Regions from separate parts of the Homo sapiens genome. Here all the other regions are linked to region 3. Evidence: promoter capture Hi-C in 16 types of primary human blood cells and fetal thymus (Javierre and others, 2016). All regions are on one chromosome and are shown on one strand. The core of a region is centred on a gene start or on the middle of the fragment in contact, and the rest is flanking DNA. Distances in the headings are between cores, read along the strand shown. Region 1 overlaps LOC105371240 (a long non-coding RNA gene). Region 2 overlaps LOC105371240 (a long non-coding RNA gene). Region 3 holds the start of C16orf78 (chromosome 16 open reading frame 78).

What was found. The method cuts DNA at HindIII sites, captures the fragments that hold promoters and counts their contacts. A CHiCAGO score of 5 or more calls a contact.
Region 1: a fragment that was not itself captured here is called in contact with the fragment with the promoter of C16orf78 in region 3 in 1 of 17 cell types (endothelial precursors); the score reaches 6.6 in endothelial precursors.
Region 2: a fragment that was not itself captured here is called in contact with the fragment with the promoter of C16orf78 in region 3 in 2 of 17 cell types (endothelial precursors and erythroblasts); the score reaches 8.1 in endothelial precursors.

The regions. Positions count from the first base shown.
Region 1 is chr16:48,674,879-48,677,578 of GRCh38, reverse strand. The region is part of intron 1 of LOC105371240 (a long non-coding RNA gene); the gene reads right to left. Among named protein-coding and RNA genes, the nearest start is that of N4BP1, 66 kb to the right of the region's middle. The HindIII fragment of the contact is 2,631 bases long and covers 1-2,623 here.
Region 2 is chr16:48,701,591-48,704,366 of GRCh38, reverse strand. All of the region lies in intron 1 of LOC105371240 (a long non-coding RNA gene), which reads right to left. Among named protein-coding and RNA genes, the nearest start is that of N4BP1, 93 kb to the right of the region's middle. The HindIII fragment of the contact is 6,331 bases long and covers 1-2,776 here.
Region 3 is chr16:49,372,505-49,375,265 of GRCh38, reverse strand. It overlaps C16orf78 (chromosome 16 open reading frame 78), which reads right to left and starts at 1,462. Exons shown (of 5, transcript NM_144602.4): 1 at 1,177-1,462. The coding sequence starts at 1,326. It overlaps LOC105371244 (a long non-coding RNA gene), which reads left to right. Exons shown (of 8, transcript XR_001752167.2): 8 at 336-2,761. RefSeq lists enhancers at 548-1,278, 1,279-2,009. The HindIII fragment of the contact is 1,803 bases long and covers 24-1,826 here.

The DNA of each region.
Region 1 (2,700 bases), core at 59-2,558, 700 kb after region 3:
TTACAACTAAGGCAGCCATATGAGCCAGAGCTTTTAATCAAATAATGCGCTTCAGAGTTTACATAGCTCTCTCACAGCCCATTGGCATTAAATTCTTATAAGACCCCAGAGAGGGAGCACAGTAACTGCTCCATTCCACAGATGAGGTAATTGGGGCTCATAAGGATTAAAGTAACTGGCCAAGTTCACCCAAATAGTAAGGTAAATCAGGGCGGAGCTCAAATCCAGTTCTACTTCCTTGCCCAATGTTCTTTCCCATGTCACCATATAACTACTATCATATATATATACACACAAATGAACTAGGGAAGATGCACTCAGCCACCAAGTCACCCTTTGTGTGTGCTGAGCACCATTCTAAGAGTTCAGACACAGCAGGGAGTGAAACAAAGACCCTTGTCTCATGGAGATTCCATTCATAAGTGTAGTCATGTGAAGCAAACCACAAACATAAAATGAATTCTGGAAGCCCACCATGAAATCTGCCCCATTATCCTGCAACCACCTCAGGGCATGTATGTGATTATTATTACTATACACAGGCATACTCTGGGAGATTGCAGACTTGGTTCCAACTGGCGCACTAAAGCAAATGTCGCAATAAAGTGAGTCACAGATTTTTTTATTTCCCAGTGCATAGAGGAGTTATGTTTACCCTATGCTGTAGTCTAATAAGAGTACAATGCCATTATGTCTAAAACATCAATGTATATACTTTAATTTTAAAAATACGTTATGGCTAAAAATTGCGAATGATCATGTGGGCCTTCAGTGAGTCATATATATATATATATTTTTTTTAGACGGAGTTTTGCTCTTGTTGCCCAGGCTGGAGTGCAATGATGTGATCTCGGCTCACTGCAACCTCCACCTCCCAGGTTCAAGCAATTCTCCTGCTTCAGCCTTACAAATAGCTGAGATTATAGGTGCCTACCACCATGCCCGGCTAATTTTTTGTATTTTTAGTAGAGACAGGTTTCACAATGTTGGTCAGGCTGGTCTCGAACTCCTGACCTCAGATGATCTGTCTGCCTCAGCCTCCCAAAGTGCTGGGATTACAGGTGTGAGCCACCGCACCCGGACAAGTCATAATCTTTTTGCTGGTGGAGAGTCTTGTCTCAATGTTGATGGCTGCTGATTGATCAGAGTGATGGTTGCTCAAGGTTGGGGTGGCTGTAGTAGTTCCTAAAAATAAGACAACAGTGAAGTTTGCCTCATTGATTGACTCTTTCTTTCCTGAAATATTTCTCTGTACCATGTGCTGTTGTTTGGTAGTATTTTACCCACAGTAGAACTTCTTTAAATATTGTATTCAGTTGGCCAGGTGCAGTGGCTTACGCCTGTAATCCTAGCATTTTGGGAGGCCGAGGCAGGCAGATCACGAGGTCAAGAGATCAAGACCATCCTAGCCAACATGGTGAAACCCCGTCTCTACTAAAAATACAAAAATTAGCTGGGCGTGGTGGCACCCACCTGTAGTCCCAGCTACTCGGGAGGCTGAGGCAGGAGAATCGCTTGAACCTGGGAGGCAGAGGTTGCAGTGAGCCGAGATCACGCCACTGCACTTCAGCCTGGTGACAGAGCAAGACACTGTCTCAAAAAAAAAAAAAATCATATCCAATCCTGTCAAATCCTGTCATGGCTTTATCAACTAAATGTATGTAATATTCTAAACACTGTTGTCATTTCAACAATTTTCACAGCATTATTACAAGTAGTTTCCATTTCAAGAAACCAGTTTCTTTGTTCATCCATAAGAAGCAACTTCTTACCCATTCAAGTTTTATGAGATTGCAACAGTTCAATTACATCTTCAGGCTTCACTTCTAATTCTAATTATCTTGCTATTTATAGCACATCTGGAGTGACTTCTTTCACTGAAATCTTAAGCCCTTCAAAGTCATCCATGTCGGTTGAAATCAACTTCCTCCAAACTCCTGTTAATGTTGTGAATCACAAGTGTTCTTAATGACATCTAGAATGGTGAATCTTTTCCGGAAGACTTTCAATTCATTTTGCCCAGATCCAACAGAGGAATCATTGTCTATGGCAGCTATAGCCTTTAAAGCCAAAATTACCCCTTGATTTGTCAGTTGCAGAACTGTGTTATCAGGTATGAAAACTACGTTAATCTCCTTGTGCACCTCCATCAGAGCTCTTGGGTGACCAGGTGCATTGGTCAATAAGCAGTAAATTTTTTTATTATTATTTTGTAGAAACAGGGTCTCCCTACGTTGCCCAAGCTGGTCTTGAATTCCTGGACTCAAGTCATCCTTCCACCTTGGCCTCCCAAAGTGCTGGGATTACAGGTATGAGCCACTGCACCCAGCCTTTTTATTTTTTATTTATTGTTATTATTTGTAGTGAGCAATAAAATTTGAAAAGACTTTTTTCTAAGCAGTAGGTCTCAAAAATGGGTTTAAAATATTCAGTAAACCATGCTATAAAGAGATGTGCTGCCATCCAGGCTATGTTGTTCCATTTATAGAGCATAAGCAGAAGTGATTTAAAATGTTTCTTAAGGGCCCTAGGATTTGGGGAATGGTAAATGAGCACTGGCTTCAACTTAAAGTCATCAGCTGCACTTGCCCCTAATAAGAGATTCAGCCTGTCCTTTGAAGCTTTGAAGCCAGGCATTGACTTCTCCTTTCTAGCTATGAAAGATGGCACCTTCTTCCATCTGATCTTTTTCCTTTTTCT
Region 2 (2,776 bases), core at 72-2,571, 670 kb after region 3:
TCCCAGATACTTTGTTAAGTGAAAAAACAAGGTGAGGAGCAGTGTTTATAGCATGTAATATTTTGCAGAAAAATAAAAACACATATGTTTATTTCTTTATATAATCATGAGATTCTGAAAACAGACTCAAGAAAGAACAAAAGAACAAGTTATTGGTAGGAGAACTTGTTAGATGGGGCACAAAAGTGAAAGGAAACTCTTTACTATAAACCCATATATATATAATTTTATTTTAAGTTCTGGGATACATGTGCAGGACGTGCAGGTCTGTTACATAGGTAAACGTGTGTCATGGTGGTTTGCTGCACCTACCAACCCATCACCTAAGTATTAAGCACCACATGCATTAGCTATTTATCCTGATGCTCTCCCTCCCCCGACACCCTCCAACAAGCCCCAGGGTGTGTTGTTCCCCTCCCTGTGTCCATGTGTTCTTGTCGTTCAGCTCCCACTTATAAGTGAGAACATGTGGTGTTTGGTTTTCTGTTCCTGAATTAGTTTGCTGACGATAATGGCTTCAAGCTCCATCCATGTCCCTGCAAAGGACATGATCTTCTTCCTTTCTACAGCCACATAGTATTCCACAGTGTGTATGTACCACATTTTCTTTATCCAGTCTATCATTGATGGGCATTTGGGTTTATTCCATGTCTTTGCTATTGTGAATAGTACTGCAGTGAACATACATGTGCATGTATCTTTATAATAAAATGATTTATATTCCTTTGGGTATATACCCAGTAATGGGATTGCTGTGTCAAATGGTATTTCTGGTTCTAGGTCTTTGAGGAATCGCCACACTGTCTTCCACAATGGTTGAACTAATTTACATTCCCACCAACCTGTTCATATATTTTTAACCTCATGAACCTATTATAACCTACTTACAAAATTAAACTTTTAAAAACCTTAATAATGTTGTAGAAATATGTTGAATTGTGGAGGAAAACCTAATATTATTAAAAGGAAAAAGTATTTTATACAACAGAATGAACAGTGACCTTAAGCAAGTCACATTTCTCTGAGCCTGTTTATCTGTAAAATGAAAAAAAAGATGCCTACTTCACAGTCATGAGAATAAATGAGACCAAAATAGGAAACACATATGTTAATAAAACACATAGCTAACACTAAATAAATATAGCTATTAATGATCCCATAAAAACAGTGCTGGAATTACATGCTTGCTACATGTGGTTATCTCTAGGTGACAGGATAGAGGTGGTTTTTATTTTACTTTTTGTGCTTTTCTAGATTTTCCAATTTTGCCATAAAGAAAACACATTCCTTCATGCCTGTAATCCCAGTACTTTGGGATGCCAAGGCAGGAGGATTACTTGAGCACAGGAGTTCGAGGCTGCAATGAGCTATGATCATGCCAATGCAATCCAGCCTGGGTGAAAGAGTGAGACCTTGTCTCAAAAGGAAGGGAGGAAGGAAGGAAGGGAGGGAGGGAGGAAAGAAGGAAGGAAGGAAGCAAGGAAAGAAGGTGGAGGGAGGAAAGAAGGGAAAGAAAAAAGAAAGAAAGAAAGAAAGAAAGAAAGAAAGAAAGAAAGAAAGAAAGAAAGAAAGAAAGAAAGGAAGGAAGGAAGGAAGGAAGGAAGGAAGGAAGGAAGGAAGGAAGGAAGGAAGGGAAGAAAGAGAGAGAGAAAGAAGGGGGAGGGAGGGAGGAAGGGAGGGAGAGAGAGAAAGAAAAAGAAAGAAAGAAAGAAGAAAGATTCCTTTTGTAACAATCTGAAAAAAACAGAAATGTTACTTGTAAAGTGATAGAGAGCAATATTTAAAGTACCTTTCAGGAAGTTCTAGCCAGACCAATAAGGCAAAAGAAAGAAACAAAAGGCATTCAAATCAGAAAAGAAGTCAAACTATCTCTCTTCACTGATTATATGATTCTATATCCAGAAAACCCTAAAGACTCTGCAAAAAAATCCTGGAACTGATAAAAGACTTCAGTAAAGTTTTGGGGTACAAAATCAACGTACAAACATTAGTAGCATTTCTATACACCAATAACATTAAAGCTGGGAGTCAAATAAAGAACATAATACCATTTACAATAGACACACGCACTAAAAAAATACCTAGGACTGTATCTAACAAGGAGGCGGAAGAGCTCTCTGAGGAGAACTAAGAAACACTGCTAAAAGAAATCAGAGATGACACAAACAAATGGAAAAACATTCCATGCTCATGGATTGGAAGAATCAATATCACGAAAATGTCCATACTGCCCAAAACAATCTACAGATTCAATGCTATTCCTATCAAACTACCAATGTCATTTTTCAGAGAATTGGAAACAACTATTCTAAAACTCATATGGAACCAAAAAACAGCCTGAATAGCCAAAGCAAAATCCTAAATAAATCCAGAGACATCGTGTAACTCAACTTCAAAGTATACTATAAGGCTACAGTAACCAAAACAGCATGGTACTGGTACAAAAACAGACATATAAACCAATGGAACAGAATAGAGAACTCAGAAATAAAGCCACACATCTACAGCCATTTGATCTTTGACAAAGTTGACAAAAATTATCAATGGGGAAAGGACTCTCTACTCAATAAATAGTGCTGACATAGCTGGCTAGCTATATGCAGAAGAATGAAACTGGACCCCTACCATTCACCATATACAAAAATTAACTCAAGGCGGTTTAAATAGTTAAGTGTAAGACCTCAAACTGTAATAATCCTGGAAGAAAGCCTAGGAAACACCATTCTGAACATCTGCCTTGGAAAAGAATTTATGACTAAGTCCTCAAAAGCAATTG
Region 3 (2,761 bases), core at 213-2,712:
AGCACACAAACATAATGGAAGCTTTCCCCAAAGGCAGGTGCTGACCTGGATAAAGCAGAGGAGTCTATGCATTTGGGAATTGGAAAACCTCAGTTTGAGCCCTGGCTCTGCCCTTTATTACTTCTGTGACTTCAATAAAATGACTTATTTTCACTTTCCTTATCCTTCAACTAGGGGTAAAAATGGTGCCTCCCTGGTAGCCTGACTGGGAGCAATTGACCACATAACCCAGGTACAAATCTAAGCACAGGGCCTTGACCACAGTAAACATTAAAAGTTAGTGATGTGTTGAGCATTGTTATTAGTAATGGCATTTTTTACTCATTTTGCTCTAGGGTCAGGAGATTCAAGACCAGGTGGCATCTTCTGCAGAGGACACCACTTTCCAAAGACATGGCTTGGTTCTTCATAGATGATAGGTCTTGGGGGAGCTCTGGGAAAAACTAAGGCAAACTTGGTTGCTACATTTCTTGGAGAAAGAGGAAAGGGTGGGTTAGAACTAGCTCGATGTAGGGTAGAAAAGAGGAGGTATGTTAGCTGGAGTTGCAGTTGCAGTAATGGCAGTGAGGAATGAATGTTCTTTGATTCTGAAGGCATCACAAGGAGAGAAGAGCTGAGGGCAGTAGGAGGATCCCATCCTGCAATATGGAGACCCAGAAGCCACTGCCCCTTGGCCCTTCTAGAATTCTGACCAATACTAACATTTGCCCAGCTTGACTAAACTTTAGACAGGTTTCTTCCTGATGATAGGCCCTTGGCCTCCTTTTCCTTAGAGCATTTCCTCTAGAAAACTTGGATTTGTAAATTTTTTCTCTGCCCCTTTGAGATGTAAATCTCTCAGTCTCTTGCTAGTTTTACAATCCAGGAATGTTTTTCTCAAGGACCTGGGAGGACCCTTTGAAATGTAATCATCAAGAAAGATTGTACCTTGTCTCTCAGTCTCTGTGAGAGGATGGGAGCCTAACATTTATAAGTGCGAATTAGCAACACAGACAGCCTAATCATATTAACTAATTCCCCCACCCCCTTAATGTCCTTGGGTAGTTCTCACTAGCTTATCCCAGCACTTCAAAACCATCCCGCCTTTTGTTTCAGGAGAGTTAAGTTCAATCTCTCTCCCCTACTGCAACTACCTTGAGTAAAGTCTTCCTGCCATTTCTCTTGGATGGTACCCACCTCGGGAGCTTGTTTCTTCTTCCCCTGCCTCCGCTCCAGCCACTCCAGCACACAGGTGAGGTCAGACATGCGCCTATCTTCAGCAGTCTTCCACATGTATTTCCTCTTTGTGGGCATTAAATCCTTCAGGTCCATTTGTTGCTCTGACATTGTGGAGTCTTGCTAGTGGCTTGGGTGGGAGGTGGCTGGCACTGTCTCACTCTTTCGATCCCTTTGTCTGGACTTGATGGCCTGGTGACTTAGAAGGTAGGGTGTGGCCTCCAGATGTGAACATAAAGGGCAGAGTGAGCCAAGACCCTGGGATATTGGCCTTAAAAGGTGGAAGGCCTGGGCAGTGATTGTGAAGTCATTGCCCGTCTTGGTAGCTGGCCCTGAGGTCAGAGTGGAGGTGGGACATTGGCCACCTCCCACTGTTCTCCATGTGGCCACTACCCCTCTTCAGGCGCTATGTCTCCTCTGGACTCTGCCACAGCCTCCTTGCAGCCTCTCCACCTCTACCTCCACAGAGATCTTAATAAAATAAAGGTCTGTCCACGCATCTTCCTTTCTCAAAAACCTTCAATGGCTCCTTGTTGCCTATCTAAAAGAAATCTGAATTCTTTAGTTTGGCATCCTATCTTTCTGTAGTGTACTCTAATTAGAAGAAAGCTTTTTATAAGCCCAATTCGTCTATATTCATTTATTCATCCAACATGTGGTTATCAGGCACCTACTAAGTATTGGGAATGGTGCTGGGGATACAATGCAGGAAAAAAACATAGGCAAACCTCCTAAGACATATGGGCTAGTGGAAAAGACAGGGCAGATAATTACCGTATGAATTCATAATGACAAGTGAAGATGAGTGCTTTCAAAGAAAGGAATGTAGTTCTATGAAAGGCCATATCAATGGTACTAGACTTGGATGGGGTGGTGGGTAGGCCACCTTTGAGCTCTGAGCTAAAGGATAAATAGACTTCAACAGGGCTGTTATGGTCTGGACATTTCTGTCCCTCCAAAATTCATGTGCTGAAATCCTAACCCCCAAGGTGATGGCATTAAAAGGTGGGGTCTTGGGAGGTAATTAGGTCATGAGAGCAGTTCTCTCATGATTGGAATTGGTGCCCTTGCAGAAGAGACTAGAGAGAGCTCCACCATGTGAAGATGTAGTGAGAAGGTGTCACCAGGAAATGGGTTCAGCAGACAACGGAATCTGTCAGAGCCTTAATTTTGGATTTCCTAGGCTTCAAAAATGTGATAAATGAATGTTTGTTGTTTATAAGCTACCCACTTTGTGGTATTTTGTCATAGGCCCAAATGGATTAAGATAAGGGCTTTGGACCAGAGAAATATGCCTGTGCAAAGGCCCTGTGACAAGCGGGAGGCATGGCACTAACAACAGAAGGCAAGGGTGACTAGAGTACCAGAGGCAAAGAGGCAATGGTACAGAGGTGGCCAGAGGCCAGGCCATCCAGGAACTTGGTAGCCACAGGTTCTGCTCAGACTGGGAAGGGAAAGGGAGCAAAGGAAAACAATAAAGGAATTCAAAAAAAGGGGAGGGAGTGGCATGGTCAGGCTTCCCTTTTTTGCTCTAGTAAACTTCTAT